Linked DNA regions of Homo sapiens: all the other regions are linked to region 3. The links are contacts of gene promoters, found by promoter capture Hi-C in blood cells and fetal thymus (Javierre and others, 2016). All regions are on one chromosome and are shown on one strand. Each heading gives the region's core, a stretch centred on a gene start or on the middle of the fragment in contact. The rest is flanking DNA. Distances are from core to core; before and after follow the strand shown. Region 1 overlaps RORA (RAR related orphan receptor A). Region 2 overlaps RORA (RAR related orphan receptor A). Region 3 holds the start of ICE2 (interactor of little elongation complex ELL subunit 2). Region 4 overlaps RORA (RAR related orphan receptor A). Region 5 overlaps RORA (RAR related orphan receptor A).

What was found. The method cuts DNA at HindIII sites, captures the fragments that hold promoters and counts their contacts. A CHiCAGO score of 5 or more calls a contact.
Region 1: a fragment that was not itself captured here is called in contact with the fragment with the promoter of ICE2 in region 3 in 2 of 17 cell types (activated CD4 T cells and non-activated CD4 T cells); the score reaches 6.3 in activated CD4 T cells.
Region 2: a fragment that was not itself captured here is called in contact with the fragment with the promoter of ICE2 in region 3 in 1 of 17 cell types (activated CD4 T cells); the score reaches 5.4 in activated CD4 T cells.
Region 4: a contact is called between a fragment that was not itself captured here and the fragment with the promoter of ICE2 in region 3, in 2 of 17 cell types (non-activated CD4 T cells and naive CD4 T cells). The highest score is 6.5, in non-activated CD4 T cells.
Region 5: a contact is called between a fragment that was not itself captured here and the fragment with the promoter of ICE2 in region 3, in 1 of 17 cell types (activated CD4 T cells). The highest score is 7.3, in activated CD4 T cells.

The regions. Positions count from the first base shown.
Region 1 is chr15:60,901,293-60,903,992 of GRCh38, reverse strand. All of the region lies in intron 1 of RORA (RAR related orphan receptor A), which reads left to right. Among named protein-coding and RNA genes, the nearest start is that of RORA-AS4, 140 kb to the right of the region's middle. The HindIII fragment of the contact is 702 bases long and covers 977-1,678 here.
Region 2 is chr15:60,939,854-60,942,553 of GRCh38, reverse strand. The region is part of intron 1 of RORA (RAR related orphan receptor A); the gene reads left to right. Among named protein-coding and RNA genes, the nearest start is that of RORA-AS4, 180 kb to the right of the region's middle. The HindIII fragment of the contact is 214 bases long and covers 1,228-1,441 here.
Region 3 is chr15:60,477,777-60,480,476 of GRCh38, reverse strand. ICE2 (interactor of little elongation complex ELL subunit 2) reads left to right here and starts at 1,335. Exons shown (of 16, transcript NM_024611.6): 1 at 1,335-1,474; 2 at 2,408-2,540. The coding sequence starts at 2,500. It overlaps RORA-AS1 (RORA antisense RNA 1), which reads right to left and starts at 1,299. Exons shown (of 6, transcript NR_120342.1): 1 at 1,079-1,299. RefSeq lists enhancers at 1,534-2,061, 2,384-2,503. The HindIII fragment of the contact is 13,398 bases long and covers 1-2,700 here.
Region 4 is chr15:60,862,516-60,865,215 of GRCh38, reverse strand. All of the region lies in intron 1 of RORA (RAR related orphan receptor A), which reads left to right. It overlaps LOC102724802 (a long non-coding RNA gene), which reads right to left. Exons shown (of 5, transcript XR_001751785.2): 1 at 1,827-2,700; 2 at 566-706. Among named protein-coding and RNA genes, the nearest start is that of RORA-AS4, 100 kb to the right of the region's middle. The HindIII fragment of the contact is 1,929 bases long and covers 357-2,285 here.
Region 5 is chr15:60,919,049-60,921,748 of GRCh38, reverse strand. The region is part of intron 1 of RORA (RAR related orphan receptor A); the gene reads left to right. Among named protein-coding and RNA genes, the nearest start is that of RORA-AS4, 160 kb to the right of the region's middle. The HindIII fragment of the contact is 362 bases long and covers 1,227-1,588 here.

The DNA of each region.
Region 1 (2,700 bases), core at 78-2,577, 420 kb before region 3:
ACCTGAGGATTGTTATTATTGATGTTTCATTTTTGTAAAGCAAACAAGATACTTTATACGTCGTATATGAATGCAAAATGTACCCCCACAAACTTATCAAATCAATGAAGCAACAAAGCATTATATAAGAGGTTTGCTGTGGAAGTTTTAACATGTTAGAAGATATTATATTCATTGTTACCCCCATTTAAATCACTATGTGAACTTGTAGAGACCGACCTCCGATTTTGCATAATTTTAAATTCATGGTCCCTGGGAAGGTAATCACCCCTTTAATAACTGTTGTGTTTCTCTTTATTCCAAATAAGGTGTGCACTCATCTGTGAATTTATGTTGGGCTAGCACGGTGTAAAATTGCCACTTTGCATTGCATACTACTTGGAGAAAGGTAGAATATAATAGCTTCACCAGCTGAATTTCAAAATAAAGCAGAGCCTTGAACATTGGTACCCTATCGTGTGCTTTGGGCTACAGAGACTGAGGAGGCCTGATGCAAACTGGACAGAATTAGGACTCTGAGGATGACTGACTCACAGGGGAAAGGATGGTTCCGGAAGACATTTTATATAAAGCTGCTTGCCAAATCGGCCAATAGGGCCCATAAACGCGTCCAACAGTAGAAACAACAGATCCTGCTGGTCTCTGCCAAGGGTACCTCTGGGAAGACAGACAGTGTTACTTGATTTACTCTGAAGCTGCAATGAGAAGAGTCTAGAGCCCAGTTTTGCAGGCTTCATGTGCCATTAGCCTCTCTCCTCACCTACATCATCCCCTCCTCAGGAGTCTACATTGTCTTCTCCTGGAACCTTCCAAAACAACTAATATAAATTTCAAGCCTGTGGTTGGTGCTTGATGAATGCCAGTTGACTTGACCACTGGAGTGCCACCTCTGAGCTAATAGACTCAGCCAGAAAGGTCAAGATAGTGTCCCATATACAGAGAGGAAGACCAGAATTCATCCCCTGAATAAAAAGCTTCGGATTAGCCTACTTTCTCTCCAAAGCACTCTGTTTTTCAACTTTATTTATTGTGTCTGGCAGATATCCTCAATTAGGAGCTAATAAACGTGAGCATTTATAAATCTTCCTTTCAGCGGAGTACGCCCCTAGATTCAGAGCATTCCGTGGGCAGCTGTAGAAGAGGAGAAAAGCGTTCTGCCCAGTGAAGGGCTAGAGTCAGCTCGTGAGAGCTGATTGTGTGCCTCTTTCCCTAACTCTGAATTCAGTGACCTCGTTCAACCACGGTGGGAGTATTTTTAACACAGAAATCAGCAGAGAGTAGAAACCAAGGGTTTTCCTCTCAGAGAGTGATTTTAAAGCATTGACCAGCATTGTCTTCTGCCTCACTGTACCTCACCTTACCACTCTCTTCTTGAAAAAGATCCAAATCATCTTTCAGCTATGTAGACATGACTCTAAAACAACACAAGATAGAGTCTGATTCACAGCAGAGGCAAGCCGTGCTGCTTCTCTAGGCCTGGATTCTAAATGCAGAACAGTGAACCTGCAAGCAGCATTCTTAGGGCTGAGCCATTCTCACGTGTAAATGGAGAGTTCCTTTCTTTTTTCAAACCCATTTTTGCAGGATGGAGGGTCCTGTCTTCATCTCAGATGAATCAGTGGGAAGCTGATCCACAGCCCACAAATCCCTTTTACTAAGAAGGATCACCTGGTAAGCTTTGGGTTACTCTCTGTTTTTTAAAAAAAAAAAATCATAAAATTGAAATAGTTCAACATAGATTTGAATCTAAAGAGCCTTCACTGCAGAGTTTATCTGGTGACCATATGACACTACAAGGACAGCTTTTAAAAAGCCAAATATCAATGGCTGAAGAATGGAATTGAAGTAGAAAATCGAGTTAGAACTGTATTAAAACAAGTCATATTATTCAGCTTTATCTATAATATTGTCTAATTCATATTTCAGTAGTAGCATAGAAAATGAATCTGATTCACTATGGTTAATTAGCCTCCGGGTTCCCAAGGTGTGAGCTGAGGCACCCTGGACATTGCAGTGGCCTCAAAGGGGTGCCAGGAAATATTTTAAATAGTTGAGGAAAATACAGCAATTCTTGACATCTGTCAGGCACCGTGTGAACTACTAGCTCAAGGTAGTTCACAGTTTCACTACTGGAATGCATAACTTTCTTTCAGTGATGTCATACCTTTGAGAAGCTAAGTTCTTGTCAGTTGCTGTATTATAAAACAGGACCATGTGAAAATCAGTGTGGAGCAGGAAACAAGGGTGAGGGCATCCAACCTGATGCCAGAGTTTGAGAAGTTGCGTAGTGCCCAACAGGCTCATGCATCTCACTATTAAGCACTTACGATTATTTAACAGTGAATGGGACTCATTTTTCTTTTAGTTTATGTGTATTCTTTTTTTCAGAAATCAAGTTGTTAGGACATAAATACTTGTTAAGTTATTTGGGTGTAATTTACAAATAAACAGAACTGTTAGATATTTCTTTCAGCTGAGATGGGCTGTAAAAATGGACAGAACCATTAGGAACATCATGAATCGCCGGGCGTGGTGGCTCACACCTGTAATCCCAACACTTTGGGAGGCCGAGGTGGGCAGATCACCTGAGGTCAGGAGTTCGAGACTGGCCTGGCCAGCATGGCGAAACCCCATCTCTACTAAAAGTACAAAAATTAGCTGGGTGTGGTGGCTGGTGTTTTTAATCCCAGCTACTCAGGA
Region 2 (2,700 bases), core at 85-2,584, 460 kb before region 3:
GCCTGAGGCTACATCCCTAATGTGAAGCAAAGTATAAGATACAAGAAACCTAAGCATACACCTTTTCATCCATGGGCAAATAATTGCCGAACATCTTGCTTAACACACATAATTCGCCTTATGAATAGAAACGTAAAACGGAAACCTGGTTCTGGTTTGACAATTTGACAAACCAGAATTTGACAATAAGCACTAGGGGGAAGAGCACTGATTTGGGATTTGGTCTGATAAGGGTGTATATCCCAGCTCTGCTGTTTACAGGCGAGGCAGCCTTGGCCTTGAGACATAAACTCACTAAGACTCAGTTTCCACATCTAGTTGTAAGGTCTGAAAGATCTACTGTGTGCACAGTAGCTGACCATTATGTAAGGGCTCCATAGATAGTTACGTTTATGATGAGCTGTGGCTTTTGCTGATATTTTGGTTTTCAACCAGATCTATCACATGAAAAAAAAAATTCCATGTTTTTAAAAAATTAGGGGGAATCTTCCGAAGATATTATGGATTAAGTTTTAATTCAATCCTTTAGGAAAGGTGAGTTTGCTTGAAGACTTAGCAGATTTTATGCATAGGAGATTTGCCTGCTCACTGGACTGGTGGGTAATGCAAAGATCAACAATTATCTTCCTAAAATGTCTGCTTTTAAAAACTATTTCTTGGTAACAACAGCAGTGCTAGTCACCAGTTTCCGGTTTGCACGTCTTTTCTTTTCAAGGGCAAACATTTAAAACCCTTCCTTACCTCCAGGATCTTTGAAGAGATGAAAAAGATAGATCAGTGAGGAGAGGGAGGTCTTGGGTTGCTAATGCTAACATGTGGAATGACTCATAATTGCGTAAAAAAGTGAGATCAAAAATTCCTTGTCTTGAGATCTAAAAGTTTTCTTAGAATACAAAGTGAGCACTCACCAAGGAACTAAAAATAAAGTACACTGGAGATCTTCCAAGAACACCTCTGGGTGAAAGCATCATAGAAACTGGCTGCTGTGTCCAGACAGGGAACTCAGCCCGAGGCTGTCTCATTGGGAGGGCCCACTGTTGACCATGGCACTGGTAGACTTTCCTCCAAGTATCTTAGGCCCCTTCACCCGGTTCTGTAGAACAATGACATTGGGACAAGCCAGATTTGGCCCTGGGGTCCTAATAGCTAAATGGAATCGCGAGACGCCAACACATTAAAGAGCTTGGAGTTGAGCAAAGACTGGCACAGTTGTATCATTTTGAAGCTTTAACAACCATTTCATCCAACCCTTCCACTTCAAGGACAAGGAACCTGAAGTCCAAGGAAGTGAAACCACACTCAATTTAGTGCCTTTTAGACCCAGCTTGAATTAACCAGAGGTTGAACTGCAACTGACAAGGCTTTTCCATCCCAGGGTTGGTATATGTAATAGCTTATCACCATGCCATAAAAATTATGAAGTGTTTGGTGTCTCCAAGCTTAGGTTCACAAAGTTGGCTCATTTGATTTTGTCTAATGAGTATAACTTGTTTTTCTATACAATACCACTTCTTTCTTGCAGGTCTGCTATCACATAGGAGAAAAATCATGGCCATTTGCCTTGGTCAACATTTGTTTTCCTTTTCTTCCACTGACTAAAATATTATGATTATTTATTTATTTATTTAGAGACAGAGTCTCACTCTGCTGCCAGGCTGGAGTGCGGTGGTGCGATCTTGGCTCACTGCAAGCTTTGCCTCCCGAGTTCAAACAATTCCCCTGCCTCAGCCTCCCGAGTAGCTGGGACTACAGGCACGCGCCACCATGCCCGGCTAATTTTTTTGTATTTTAGTAGAGACAGGGTTTCACCATGTTGGCCAGGATGGTCTCAATCTTCTGACCTCGTGATCCACCTGCCTCGGACTCCCAAACTGCTGGGATTACAGGCTGACTACAATATTATTTACATACAATGTAATCCAGTTATAAGCATACAGTTAGATGAATTTTGGTTATTGTTTACAACCATAACCACCATCTGAAACAATACATAGAACAGTTCCCTCACCTAAAATGTTCCCTCGGGCCTCTTGGCTCTCAATCCCGTCCCCCTGCAACCTGGCCTCTGGCTTCCACAGATCAGCTTTCTGTCTCTGTATTTTGCCTTTTCTAGAGTTTTATCTAAATACAATAATATAATACATATTCTTTTTTGTTCAACATCTTTCACCTAGCGGATGTTTTTGAGATTCATCCATGTTGTTGTATTATAATTTCTTTTTATTACTGGAATAGTATTCCATCGTATGGACGTACAGTTTGTTTATTCCTTACCAATTGATGGCCTTTGGGGTTGTTTCTGGTTTGGGGCTATTAGAAATCATCTTAGCCAACAATTTTATCTTTAATTTCTTTCAGTGATCTAATCTTGTGACCCAGCCTCTAATTTTTAGGATCTTAGAATGTTCACCATCACTATTAGAGTGAAACATTTTCAAAAAATGCTGATAGGGTTGGAGGTGTTGGCCCCTGATCCTCCCATGTGTGACTTTGGAAGTGATCTTCTACTCATCTTGAAGTAGCAATGCCAAGGCTCAAAGCTGACATGATGGCCTATTTAGTGTTCTGTAATGTAATTTACCACCAGGATAGGCCTTCGGGCACATGACAGAGTGCAACAAAATGCAGTATCCAATATTTATAGTAAATACACTGGAGTGGTTTTTTATCTTGCCTTGTAGAAATGTGCACACACACTGC
Region 3 (2,700 bases), core at 86-2,585:
AATAAGTTTATGCAGTTCCTTGTATTAAAAAAAATTATAGGAGGCCATTGTTTAGAACTTCTGCACTAGACCCCAAGAGACCAGACTAAAATAAAAATGGTATCACTCAGGCTCACCACACCGAAACTGAGTTATGTGGCCCTCCAAGAAATCAGGAGACAGAGGTAACAGGCCAGTTTCAATTTTCAATCAGCAAGATAATGAATTTCCTCTGTTTTAGTCCCTACAGCAAAGAGTAACTTGAAGTAACCTGATGTTAACCAATCAGTTATCTTTCTATTGTACTGTCTGTCTCCACCTTACCAGGAAAGTAACTTTGAAATGATCAATCTGCTTTTTGTTCTTTGTTTCTACTTTCTACAGACCTTTTTTCTGTCCGTAATGCCAACCTCCTCTGTTCCACTCATTGGGACACTCATTCCATTTTATGGAATGAAGTGTTGCCTGATTCCAGAATCGCAATAAGGCCAACTGAGATCTTTAGATGTGTCAAATTTTTGTCTTTTGACACTTGTGCTGGTCTGTCTAGAACGCCCTTTCTCTTCATTCCACATACCCACATTCTTCAAATGAGCTCACACGGCAGGTGCTCAGTGCAGCAACTGACATGTAAGTACTCAATACTATTCAAAACTGCGTTTTGTCCCTCACACTAGCTATTCCTCTCCCTCTAACCTCAATCTATACACCTTTCTTATGTAGTTTATTACTTTCTATTGTATTTAATGTAAATGTCTTAGATTGCCAGAGATCCAAAGCACTGGAAAAATCAGTATTCAGTCTTAGTCCATGTGTACCCAGCACCAAGCACAAAGTACTCTGTTTACGGTCAATAAATCTTTCCGTAATGGATGAGAACAAAACTAGTGTTTGAACTCACAGCTAAAACTGGATGGGGAGTGGAGCGGAGGTGAAGGAGCACTTAATGAGGCCCTACTATGTGCCAGGTACTGTGCAGAGCACAGCTTCTTCCTTTGTTTCATTTAATCCTTTCCAAAAAACCGTATGATGCAGCAGTAACAATTTCATCTCCATTTTACATATGAGGAGTTTGGGTTACGGAAGTCAGGAAACTTGCCTGAGGTCACAACCAAGTATGTTTGGGTCTTTCCAGTACCGCACTTGTCGCTTGTCCGCCTTCCAATTTATCACTCCCCTCCTCTCCCCGACGAAGGTCGAGGACTTTCTAGGAAAACACGCAGTCTCCAACCACTTCCGCCTGGCGAGCCCAGTCTCGCACTTCGCTGCCAGAACCACAGCGAGCGCTTGTGGCGGGAGGAAAGGAGGGGAGCAGCCGTCAAGACGCAAGGCCCCGCCCACTATGTCGCTGAGACGTCATCACGCAGGGCCGAGTCGGCGCGGCCACATCCTTTAAATATGGTCTTTTTTGGGCGCGCGCGACAATGTGAGGAGTGGGGTGGAGCGTGTGTGGTGTGTGGCTGCGGCCTGGGCAAGAGCCGCCGCGGACCATGAGGTGGGCGGAAAGGCTGTGTTGCAGCCCAGACGCGGACGGGAGGGCGCTGCCGGGCCAGCGGGCGTGCTCATGCAGGGGCGGGAGGAGGGAACATGGCGGCCGGGCCAGGACCCTTTGCTCCTGGCTCTGCGCGGCTCCTACCCCTGCTTTGCTTGCCCTTTTACCTGCTTTTCTGGAACCTTGTTTCCCCTCTCTTTGCGTCCCCTTTCCCTCAGCCGTTTCTTTTGCCTTCCTCGACTATTCCCCCCCAGCTCCACACTGGGTCGAAGTGTGAGAGGTAGATTAAGTGGGAGCCGGTCGGGCCCGTTCGGTGTCGAGAGACCGACTCCTAAATTTGATTAGGTTCTCGCAGGTCACTTTATCAGTCTGCCTGGGGTCACAGGAGAAGTACTGAACATGAGAGATCAAGCCTGATTTGTAGTCCTGATGATGTCTGTAAGTGATCTTGTGAAATGTCACTTAAGTTGACCTCAAGTCTTCTCAAATGTGAGGTTCTTTGTGAAAGGCCTAAGATTCCTGATATCGAGGTAGCTTTTGTCATAAAGTGCCTGCCAGAATCTGCCCCATAACAAAGCATGGTCGGGAAAACAAAAGATTTATTTTGGCAGTAAGGGAATGGAAAACTGAGTTGACTTCCCGTTCCATGCCATCAAGTGGCCTAGTATGTAAGCAATGAGAACACCGTTCTGTTTCAGCTCTTATTTCCATAGTGAGTGTCCTGAGAGTAACACTCCCGGCGTAGATTAAATGGAAAAGGGCTCGTCCTGTATCGTCATTGCTGCTCTGCTACAAAGAACCTTGGGTCTGCTGTATTCTGTTTTAGGTGCCACAGTCTGTTGAGGGTAGATGTTTAGGGAGAGATTCTTCCTCACCTAATAGCACCTGGCCTAGCCAATCACTTGCTTTTGATCTTGGCCTTTTGTTTTTACTCAGCTGAGTAAGTTCTGGAGGGATCCTGCCTCTTGGAGCCTTCGCAGCCAGGCAGCTGTGAACTGTGAGCTAGAGTGAAGCAGAAATCTAGGAAGATGAGCTCCAAGATGGTCATAAGTGAACCAGGACTGAATTGGTGAGTTGTAGCCACTTTGTAATCCACTGAAGAGGAGTGTAGTGGGGCTGATGGTTGACATAAGAAAATAGATTTCTGGCATAGAGAGATTTGGAGGAAACAGAAAATACAAGTTTAGGGTCTCAGAATTTACCCTATCCTCATCTTCACATACGGAATG
Region 4 (2,700 bases), core at 72-2,571, 380 kb before region 3:
TAGACTGGAACCCAAGTTCTCTGACAGGGAGCCCTGTTCAGGGTTTATCAGGTCTATCAAACATCTTTCTCTTTCTACCTCATCCCTAAGGACTGGAATGTGGTGGAAAGAACGTTGGACCAGGCAATGGGAGAACCAGGATCTAAACATATCTTCATTAATTTTACCTTGAATTTATCTGGCCTCTTATTTCCTCTTCACAGCATCAACTTTCTTGTAAAAGTGGATGCCTACTACTGTTCCCCAAAGGAAGAGGCAAGGTAAAACAAAGTCTCCACAATACTAGCAATACCAAATGTGGAACAAATCCCAGTGGTAGTGTTACTTGGTGCTCTGTGACTTTGGAACCTAAAGCTTCACTAGACCGTTGCAATTACTAAGTGAGTAAATAAAGCACATAGCACAAAGGCCTGGCACTGAGATGCCCACCCTCTTCATGGGGCTCCTGTCTTCTTCCTTCCTGATAGATCATGTGTAAGTTCATATGTATCTATAAGGGACATGAATTATCCAGAATTCCTTATAGTCAGAATGTACAGTGATATAATGTTCCTGAGTTACTTACCCATTTCCACTGGGTAAGTCAGCTTGCAGAACTCATTTCCGTTTCTCTTCAACTAGCCAAACATCCATTTTCACCTACATGGAAACTTCTACTGGCCTTGGGACAAATAAATCACATTTGGAGTGTCCCAGGACAATTTAGCTTTAGAAGAAAGAAAAAAAAAAAACAAGGATGGTAACATGAAAGGACGTTTGCTGTGTTGGGCTGTCACTAAGTCCCCATCGAAACTGTGAAAAATTATGGCCAATAAAATAACATTTTTCAAAATGTGACACTACCCTTAAGTTTATCTTGGGCAATAAATGGGTTTTAAAAAGAATATTTGAGGGCTATCCATTCTTCAAGCACTCAATAACATATCATAAGTTAATTGCATTATTAATTTATAACAGAGTAATTGTTTTGTCTCAACAGTCATTTTCACAAGCTCTGACATTCATTTTCTCTTCCTTTTTAATCATCTCAAAATATTAACACTTAAACCACCCCCACCATGCCACCCCAGTTGTCCGCCTCCTCCTACAAAATATAAAAAATGATTCTGAGGGCTGGGCACAGTGGCTTACGCCTATAATCCCAGCACTTTGGGAGACTGTGGCAGGCGGATCACGAGGTCAGGAGTTCAAGACCAGCCTGGCCAATATGGTGAAATTCCCTCTCTACTAAAAATACAAAAACTAGCTGGGCACAGTGGCACGCACCTGTAGTCTCAGCTTCTTGGGAGGCTGAGGAAGAAGAATTGCTTGAACCTGGGAGGCGGAGGTTGCAGTGAGCTGAGATGGTGCCACTGCACTCCAGCCTGGGCGACAGAGCGAGACTCTGTCTCAAAAAAAAAAAAAAAAAGATTCTGACAGTTGGCATGCATAATCTTCTGGCCACCCTTTTGTGATAATGAAAAGAATAAGAACAAAAGCAGCTAGTATTGACTGAGTTTGAAGCTCTGCGAAACAGTCTACTAAACAGTTTAACTGCATTACTTCATTTAATCTTCCCAACAATCCTGTAAGGTAGATGGCAGTATTATGCCTATTTTACATGTGAGGGAATTAAGGCAGAGAATCATTTTCTAAAGCCAAAACAAAAAACCATCCTCACCATTTATTTGGTGAGGGTTCATGAATACAGCTTTTCGTAGGCCAGATTTGCTTAAATAAGAATGTGTTTGAGTGCTGTTCATTCTATATAACACAAAATATAAATATCATCTTTAATTGTACCCAAGTCTAAGTAGTGAAAGGCAGAGGAAAATTAAGTAAAATACCTATTAAGACCACAAAAACTATGTCTTCGGGAATGAATTTTTTTTAAATGAATGATCCAGTTTGGGTACTGGTGTACATTGTAGTGTTAGAATGACCTTATTATGACATGTACAGGCATTGTGATTGTTTTGTTCCTGAAAGGTCAGAACACTAATGTGCAAGCCCAGGCTCTGTCACTATCTGTGCTGTGTCCAGTAGTTCACTTCATCTTTCTGAATCTCAATTATCTCAACTGTAAAAGATTGGCCCTAATATTCCAGTATTCCTAGAGTTTTTGTTGATAACAGGATAGACCCAAGAAACTGTTTACAAGCTAATCATGAAGATGATAAGGGGAAGACAGCCCATTTTTAATGCCCAAGTTTAGATATAGCAAGACTCAGTCTTGCATTTCAACCTGCCTGAAGGGAGAACCACACAGTTGGACAGCAGAGAGGAAAAGCCCCTATATGAAAGCTTAATAATAACAACAACCAAAAAAGGGCAGTCTTGAAGCATCATGACACTAAAAGCTCATTAAGATCTCTGTCCCAGCTATTACACTCCTAATTGAACAGTTACACAAATAGATGTACAATACAATTGTGACTCTAATTAAGGCTCCGACCTCAGAATCTAGTCAAAGCTTGTACAGTTCTCACTCCCCCTTTAAATAGCTGTTCTGGGCAAGCTCTGGGAAGGGAAGCTGTTCTATTATGACTTCACTGAAATAACATGAAAATTCATACAAGCGCTTCTTTTTCTTTTTTACCCAAAATACACCTCCCACTCTCCATTTCTTTCCTTTAGCTTCTGGGAGTGTGATCCTTTGGTAGGAGCGGATGCAATTTGCCAATCCAGTAGTGTCTGCCATATTGCTTTCAACACTTTTCT
Region 5 (2,700 bases), core at 158-2,657, 440 kb before region 3:
GTAAAGTGAATTCCAAAAGCCACATGGTGAGTGGCAGAGATGGGAATTGAACCCTGTTTTTTCTTTAATTGTATTGGAGCATAACACATACAAAGAAATGTGCACAGATCATATTTGTGCAGCTCAATGAATTTGTAGGTGAACACATCGCCTATACCCACATAAAGAAATGGAATAGGATCAGCATCTCCAAAACCACCTCATGACCTTGCCAGTCACTACCCTTCCTCAGAGGTAACCACTGTCTTGACTTCTAGCACCTTAGATGACTTTTGCATATATTTTGAACCTCATTTAAATTGAATCATGTGCTATGTACTCTTTTATGGACGGCTTCTTCTGCCTAACATTCTGTGCATAGAATTTGTCCATGTTGATGCCTGCAATGGGTCTTTCCTTTTCATTGCTATGTAGTGTTCCACGGTAGAAATGTGCCATGATTGATCCATTCTGTTAGGGATGGAATTAGTGGTATTTCCATTTTGGGGTTTTTATGAATAGTGGCTCTGTGAATATTCTTATACATGTCCTCAGGTGGATATAAGTATGGATTTCTGTTGGATATATCCTGGCAGTGGAATTGCAGGGGCATGGGGTAGGCATATGTGAACCAGGAGCTCCAGTTTTCTTTCTATCACCCATTTGTCTCTACAAATAGGTTAAGAAATTAACCACTTTATGTGATTAGTTCTATAAGACTGGAGAATAACACAGGGTCTTAGGAGGCTATGAGGTAGAACCAAGACTGCAATTTAGGCCTTGATATTCTGGTCCTGGGTTGATCATGAGCCCCAAGGCCCAATCCAGACCTTCAAGGCTTCATAAATCTTCCTTGAAGTGAGTTTAATGCAAGAAAAGAACTCCACTGAGGTGTCCTGCATCTGTAGTTTTACACAATAGCATGTCATTTCAGGACACCAAAAGTCATCTCACAGAGAGAAACATGAACATAATTGTTTAAACTATCAGCAAATGGAAAAATGTTATGAAGATTTCAATAAAATTCATCTTCACATTTGGTGTACCTGAAGATTTGTCAATATTATAGCAATGGTCTCATCACAGTTTCATCTTTGAGGATGAACAATATCTATTGTAATAGCTCGCTGTTAACTATGAACCCATGGTATGTAGGCTTCTCCCTGGGGTATGTGGTAATCCACATCTGTCATATCTTAGTGCCCAGCCTGTTGTTCCTAGCACCCAGTTTGGGTACTGGTAAAGCTTGGTGACTTTAGGCCTAAGAGAGACCTAAAATGGGTGGCCTACTGACAGTTCCAGGTGACAGCCATGGTCTGAGGATGTGGGTGATATGATAGGAAAAAATGTGGGCTTCACATACAAATGGGCATAGGTTCAAATCCCAGATCTACTTATTCTTTGACGTTGAAAACATTACTTAATTCTGAGTCTGCTTCTTTAAGACAAAGATGATGAGATTAGCCTTAGAGAAATATTAGAGAAAGGTTAACTTAGATGATAGAGGTGGAAGATAAAATGGCTGATTCGTAGATAGAAACATAGATACTTAGATATATAGATAGATACATAGATAGATGCATACATAATTCCAAGGTCTCCGGAAGCTTTCTTTTCTGCCTCCAAGTCCTTTGGATGTTTGGTTAGTGGGGTGAGATAGTGCTGCTGAAGCTGTGAGGGAGCTGATAAAGGAAGAGGCCTCTTCTCTTTCCTATTCCTTTCCACTAAAACTGAGCCTTCTTCCCCTTCTCCTTCGTATGCAGTTAGCACAGTGGAGTGTGTGATCCTTCCTGGCTCTTCTGTACGTTCTATAAGATTTTATTTCCTGCATGGTTGAACACCAAGCATGAAGATTATTATTTGTTTATTTGTTATTGATTAGTTGACAGCCCTACCTGCATCCAGAAATTTTATACTAAAAACATAGGTACAAAAAGATCAAAACAATATATAAAACAAAAGCAGATATCAGGCAAAAGAGAGGAAAAGAAAACCGTAATGAAAACTCCTACCTAAGGAAAAGATGGATTTTTCAGCTTCCTAGCAGCTAGAGGAAAAGGGAATCAGTGTGGACTTCAGATTTCTCATTATCTATTAGTAGGGGGGCATTGCAGGTCAGGAGGTGCAAATGTCTGCCTGCTCTTGACCAGTGAAAGGAATGTGATACAGGAGTCTTTGTATAGGTGCCGTAATCAGGTAAAAAATATGTATTTAAATATCCCAGAGTAGCCTCTATAATGGATGCAGAGGCACTCCCTATATAGGTATTATCTATAGTAGCCTAGTCTCAATTTTGAGGCATCAACAACTCCTCCCTCATGAAGGAATTGCATTATGGAAAATCACTCGGAGGTGGCCTGTGTGGGCTCCAGGCCTGGCTCTGCCATTTATCTGCTTTGTGACATTGGACCATACCTTCCTTCACCCCTGCTGGGCCCTGGGCTTCTCCTCTATTAAACGAGGGGTCTCCTGCAGTTCTAAGAGCTAAAGTTTCTCTTATTCTTCATATGCCAGGCACCCCGTTGTGTGGGTTTCTCCTCCCCATGCCCAGTGATATCCAGTGAGAATCAATAGCAAGAGCAACCTCAGAGGATAGTCAACTCAAGGGGATGTGGAGGAAAAGCCAAGGAGGCCACTGTTGCCAAGAAATACAGTCTGGAGACCAGTTTTGTATTTGGGGGCAGGGTGGTTCATGCCTAGTGCATATTATATAAGCCGCAT